Regions from separate parts of the Homo sapiens genome. Here region 1 is linked to region 2. The links are contacts of gene promoters, found by promoter capture Hi-C in human tissues and cell types (Jung and others, 2019). All regions are on one chromosome and are shown on one strand. Each heading gives the region's core, a stretch centred on a gene start or on the middle of the fragment in contact. The rest is flanking DNA. Distances are from core to core; before and after follow the strand shown. Region 1 has its middle 62 kb from the start of COPB1. Region 2 holds the start of RRAS2 (RAS related 2).

Region 1 (2,905 bases), core at 317-2,816, 79 kb after region 2:
TTTAGTATTTACATTATTATGCCTTACAACTATTTACTTGTTATGTTATTACAAGCACACCAAAATTATATATATATTTTGTTTTTTTGAGACAGGGTCTCACTCTGTCACCCAGGCTGAAGTGCAGTTGCATAACTTGGCTCACTGCAGCCTCCGTGCCCCCAGCTCAAGCAATTCTTCCACCTCAGCCTCCCGAGTAGCTGGGACTACAGGTGCCTGCCACCATGTGTGGCTAATTTTTGTATTTTTTGTAGACACAGGGTCTCACTATGTTGCCCAGGTTGGTCTTGAACTCCTGGCCTCAATCCGCCCTCCTGCCTTGGTCTCCCAAAGTGCAAGGATTACAGATGTGAGCCACCATGCCCTGCTCAAAATTATATTTCTTTTCCAACTTTTGCTTTTCCTAAATCTAATAATTGCCTTGGTTTTTCACCTGCTTAATTTTCTTTGTAATTATTACCTATAGTTATTTCTTTGACACTTTACAATAATCTTTCACTACAGATTCCCTTGTAGTCAATTACATCAGGTAATCTGTCTGTTCCAATTTTTCTCTTGAAAAATTGAAAATGAGTCTCCTAGAGACTCCCGGAGACTCATTTTCTTATCTGATTGCACCCTAGCCCTTCTGCTTAGCTGTCTTCCCAGCACTTTTCTTCCCTGTCATCCTGAGAATTCTTTTTTGCCTTTTTCTGAGTTGGGATCCCTGTTGCCTAGAATTTGTATCTTTCTCTTTCTCAGTTTGCACCCCTGTTTGGGAGATATCTGTTCCAGTAGTTTCATCAGTTTTAACCTGATGATACTCCTCAGTGAACCTCTCTTGAATCACCTTACTCTTTGGCCTGATTATGCTCGACACTTGGTGCAATGCTGTGATCCTAGAATCTCTACTGATTGTCACTCTTCAGGTGCTCTTCATCTCTTTCCTTGTTGGATCTTGTTTGTTTGTTTGTTTGTTTACTCCTATATTTTGGTGGGAAAGTGTATATGTCAGAGAAAATTTCTTCATCCTATCTTCACACTTGATTATAGTCTGAAAAGTATAGAATTCTTAGGAAGTATTTGCTTGCAGAATTTTTAAGCCATTGCTCCATTCCCTTCTTGATTCCAATGTTGTTAAGGATCCTCAAGACATTTTGATTCCTGATTGTATACAACCCATTGTTTCTTTTTGGAAGTTTTCAGAATCTTCTCTTATTTATTTATTTATTTATTTATTTATTTATTTATCTTTATTTTAGAGACAGGGTCTCGCTCTGTCACCCAGGCTGAAGTGCAGTGGCAGGATCATAGCTCACTGCAGCCTGGACCTAGTGAGCTTAAGCAATCCTCCTGCCTCAGCCTCCTGAGTAGCTTGGACTACTCAGGCATGCACCACCACACCTGGCTAATTTTTTAATTTGTTGTAGACATAAGGTCTTGCTAGGTTGCCCAAACTGATCTCTAACTCCTGGGCTAAAGTAATCCTCCCAAAGTGTTAGGATTACAGGCATTACAGGATTACAGGATTCCACTACACCCTGCTAGAATCTTCTCTTTTTCTTTGGTGTTCTGAAATTATACAACAGTGTTCTGAATTTCACTAAGTGCTGAGATATGAATATATTTTCATTCACTGTGCTGAGCAACTTCTGGAAGACAAAATCCTCTCCACAATTGGCTCAGCAAGTGAAGAGATCTTAGGAGGTCACATGCCAGCTATTTTACACTTTGGTCCAGAGTGAGATACTAATCACCTCAGCCTGCCTAATTGCTAAGTTCCTGGGAAATGTGAGGAGCAGAACAGAATATTTGGTAAACACCACTATCTCTGACATAGGAAGAGTGGACTATAGAAATTTTGTTATAAAGGGAAGGAGAGATAAGGTAGTAGCTAGGGTGACAGGAGGTGAGTGGATTTTTTGTTTTTCTTTTTTTTTTGAGACAGAGTCTCACTCTGTCGCCCAGGCTGGAGTGCAGTGGCGTGATCTCAGCTCACTGCAACCTCCACCTCCCAGGTTCAAGCAATTCTCCTGCCTCTGCCTCCCAAGTAGCTGGGATTACAGGCCCGTGCCACCACACCCAGCTAATTTTTGTATTTTTAGTAGAGACGGAGTTTCACCATATTGGTCAGGCTGGTCACAAACTCCTGACCTTAGGTGATCCGCCTGCCTTGGCCTCCCAAAGTGTTGGGAATACAGGTGTGAGCCACTATGCCAGGCCTGTTTTTTGTTCTTCTAATTAGAAGAGAATTGCATGTGTTTAGAGGAGAAGGAGTGGTTAATCAAGGGGCATGGTATTGGTCTTGGAGAAGGTGGAAGGAAGAATGATGTGCCTTAGAAAGGAGATCTGACCCTCTTTCTCTGAGACTGGCAGGAAGGAAGTGAAGGAAGTATAGTTAGCTAAATGTGTAGGTGTAGAAGCAGGAAATTGAAGTTCACACCTGATATTTTAAATTTCCTAAGAAGTAGGAAGCAAGTCAATTGCCAAAATTGGTAGTAGTGGTGGTGTGGTGGAGAAGGGACCAGAAGTAGGTTATGGGCGTTCAGGAGCTTGGAGAAGTTTCTTGAATCTATCTCCACTAAGCCATCTGCCTTCGGATGGACAACTATTAATACAATAGCTTCCCATCTGATTTACTTACCTCCATTAAGCCCTTTCAACATACTACAAACAGGCTGACCTTTTTTAAAAGGACGTATCAGATCATGCCACCCTCTGCGTGAAACTGTACACTTGCTCAAAATCCTTGAAATGACCCAAATATTTGGTTCACATTGTCTTCTTAGTCTTAGCCTCAACCTTCCATACACTCTAACAGGAACCCTTTTCATTTCCTTCCTCCTTTCCTCCTTGAGGCCTTCACAGATACTCTTCCTTGCACGAGGAGAGCACTTCCATTTCACTCCTACTCCTTTCACTTGGC
Region 2 (2,764 bases), core at 63-2,562:
TCCCAAAAAAGACTACTCAAACCTCTCCCCAAGAGCAAATTCTAAGAAGGAAGAATACCACCTCCCTTTTCTTTACCACAAACCCCTGACTTACCGTCTCTAGCAACCAGAGAGGGCTGGGGGTAGGGGAGAGGGTGGTTAGAAAACAGAACGCACGACTCGGTCATATCCTAGCCCGGCCCATCCCAAACTTCACCTAGGCACGGCGAGAAGCAGGACGGCATCAGGAATTCCTAGGAAATGGTCTCACCCCATCAGAGAACATTTTTAACTTCCTAGAAGCCACCATTTCCCCGGGGCATTATCACACACTCCCACCCGGACATATTACCTAAGAGAGTACTTATAAAAAGAGCGTAACACACACACAAAGAAATACACAGTACTTGAAGCGGGCAGCTCCGGCTCAGGCGGCGCGGGGAAGCCCGGAGACCACGCGGAGCCGCGGCCAAGTTGCCACCGCTATCGCCCCGACGGTGAAGGCGCGGCCGCAGGCGGCTGGAAAAGCAGCGCGCGGGGCTCCAGCTCCAGCCCCACGCCCGGACCCTCGGAGCAGTAAAGCCCGGCTCGGTGGCCCAGCCTCTCCCGGAGGTCTCTGGCCTCGGCCAGAGCAATAAGGTGGATCGGTGCTTCCCACCCTTCCAGCTCCGCCCTCCCGACCACATTCCTGAGAAGCCCTACTCCCGCGACGCCGCGCCCGGGAGGAGGCAGGAGCGCGACGCTGCGGCCGCAGGGCAGGAGCGTAGTCGGCCCCGCGCCCTCCCGCCCCCTGGCCCCGGCCCGGGCCCGCGAGGCGCCTCTGGGGCGAGGTCGCGGCGGCCGCCCCGCCACAGGTAGCGCCAGCCCCCGCCCGCCGCCGCTCCGGCGCCCCGGGCAGGCCCGCTCCAGGTACCTGGATGAACTGGATGGTGAGCGCCGACTTGCCCACGCCGCCCCCGCCGACCACCACGAGCCGGTACTTCTCCTGGCCGGAGCCGTCCCGCCAGCCGGCCGCGGCCATGGGGACGCTACAGAGCCCAGCCTGACTGCGCCGAGCCGCCGCTGCCGCCCGCCCTAGGCCCGGCTCCGGGGACGTGTGCGGCCGGCGGGCTGCGGGCGAGCGGCCGGGCTGGGGTCCCGGGTACCGGGAGGCGTCTGGAGGGCCGGTCAGCGCGGTAGCGCGGCGCTGGGGACTGGCTGGGTACCGCCCGAGGCGCGGAGAAGCGGGGTGACGGCACGGGCCAGGGGCGGCAGCGGCCGGGGGGCGCGCTCCTCTACGCGTCTCCGCAGCGCCTGCCGAACGCAGCCTCCAGCGCCGCCACAAATGGCCGTCTGGGGGCCGGGCTGCCAGGCTGAGGTGCTGCATATGCATGAGGGGGCGGGGAGGGGCGGGGCCGCGCCGCTTGGGGCTGAGGTTCGGGAGGTAACCCGGGCTTCAGACCCCCACGGACACACCGCTCTAATCCCTAGCCAGTGAGCGAGTGCGTGAGAGTGTGGGAGTGGGTGTCAGTTGGGAGTGGGACGAAGGCAGAAAGAGTGTGTCACCCTAATTGTCTATGTAAGGGATTGTGTGGATGAAAAATACAATATGTGACGGCGTGTGCGAAAAATAGGGCTGTTGGCATATTAACTCAATTTTATAGGAGAGTACATACCCTGCTTTAAGAGTACAGATGGTGACCATATTTGTGTGAAAAACAGTATGTGACAGTGATTGAGGATTAGAGCTGTGTCACAGTAATTGAGTGTGTGATGGGCTGGTGGTTGTGACAGTGTGAAGAATGGGACAGTGGCTGAGCATGGAGAATAAGTCAGTGATTGAGCTTGCATGGGCAAGACGGAATGTGACAGATTTTGTATGTGTCAGTACAGTGTCATAGTGGCTATGTTTATGTGTGACAAATGTGCAGTAATTGGATATGAGGAGTGTGAGTGCGAGGGGTTGAACTCCTGGCCTCAAGCAATCCTCCCGCCTCGGCCTCCCAAAGTGCTGGAATTACAGGTGTGAGTCACTGCACCCGGCCTCATGGGGTTTTTAATAAGAATTAAATGAGCACATAAAACAGTGCTGCTACACAGGAAGCATTTACAGCAATCTTGGAACATGACTGCAAGTTCTTGGACTTCACTTGGTAACTCATTTGGAACCAGTAGAATGCAGCAGAAGAGATGCTGCCTAATTTCCCAGGCTAGATCAGAAGAGGCCATGCAGCTGTTCTCTTGGTATTCTCACTCCGGGAGGAACAAAGTCAGAAGTTTGACTATCATAAGACTGCCATGCTAAAGAGGCTACATGTAGGCATGCCAGTCGAAGTCTGATTGATGGCCAGGAGCAACATGCCATTTAAAAAAAAAAAAAAAAAGTCCCACTGAGCTCCCACCAGATCACCAGCATCACCTGCCAGCCATCTAAGTGAGACATCTTGGACACTCAGCCTAATCGAGCCTTCCAATGACGGCATCCCCTGTTAGCATCTGAATGCAACTGCGTGAGAGACCCCAAGCAAAAATACCCATCCAGGCCAGCCCATCCTGAATTCCTTTTTTAAAAATCTTTTTTTTTTCTTTTTTGAGACAAGATCCCTCTGTCACCCAGGCTGAAGTGTAGTGGCACAATCATGGCCCACTGCAACCTCCAACTTCTGGACTCAAGTGATCCTTCCACCTCAGCCTCCCTAGCAGCTGGGACTACAGGCACATGCCATCAAGATCAGGTAATTTTTTTTTTTTTAAGAGACAAGGTCTCTCTATGTTACCCAGGCTAGTCTCGAACTCCCAAAGTGCT

What was found. The method cuts DNA at HindIII sites, captures the fragments that hold promoters and counts their contacts. A contact is called where the count stands out against the background at its distance.
Region 1: a fragment that was not itself captured here is called in contact with the fragment with the promoter of RRAS2 in region 2 in 2 of the 25 tissues and cell types used here (H1 embryonic stem cells and IMR-90 fibroblasts).

What each region holds. Positions count from the first base shown.
Region 1 is chr11:14,436,682-14,439,586 of GRCh38, forward strand. No RefSeq gene overlaps it. Among named protein-coding and RNA genes, the nearest start is that of COPB1, 62 kb to the right of the region's middle. The HindIII fragment of the contact is 7,789 bases long and covers 1-2,905 here.
Region 2 is chr11:14,357,871-14,360,634 of GRCh38, forward strand. It overlaps RRAS2 (RAS related 2), which reads right to left and starts at 1,313. Exons shown (of 6, transcript NM_012250.6): 1 at 893-1,313. The coding sequence starts at 1,000. RefSeq lists an enhancer at 143-242 and silencers at 483-602, 643-842, 913-1,412. The HindIII fragment of the contact is 8,284 bases long and covers 190-2,764 here.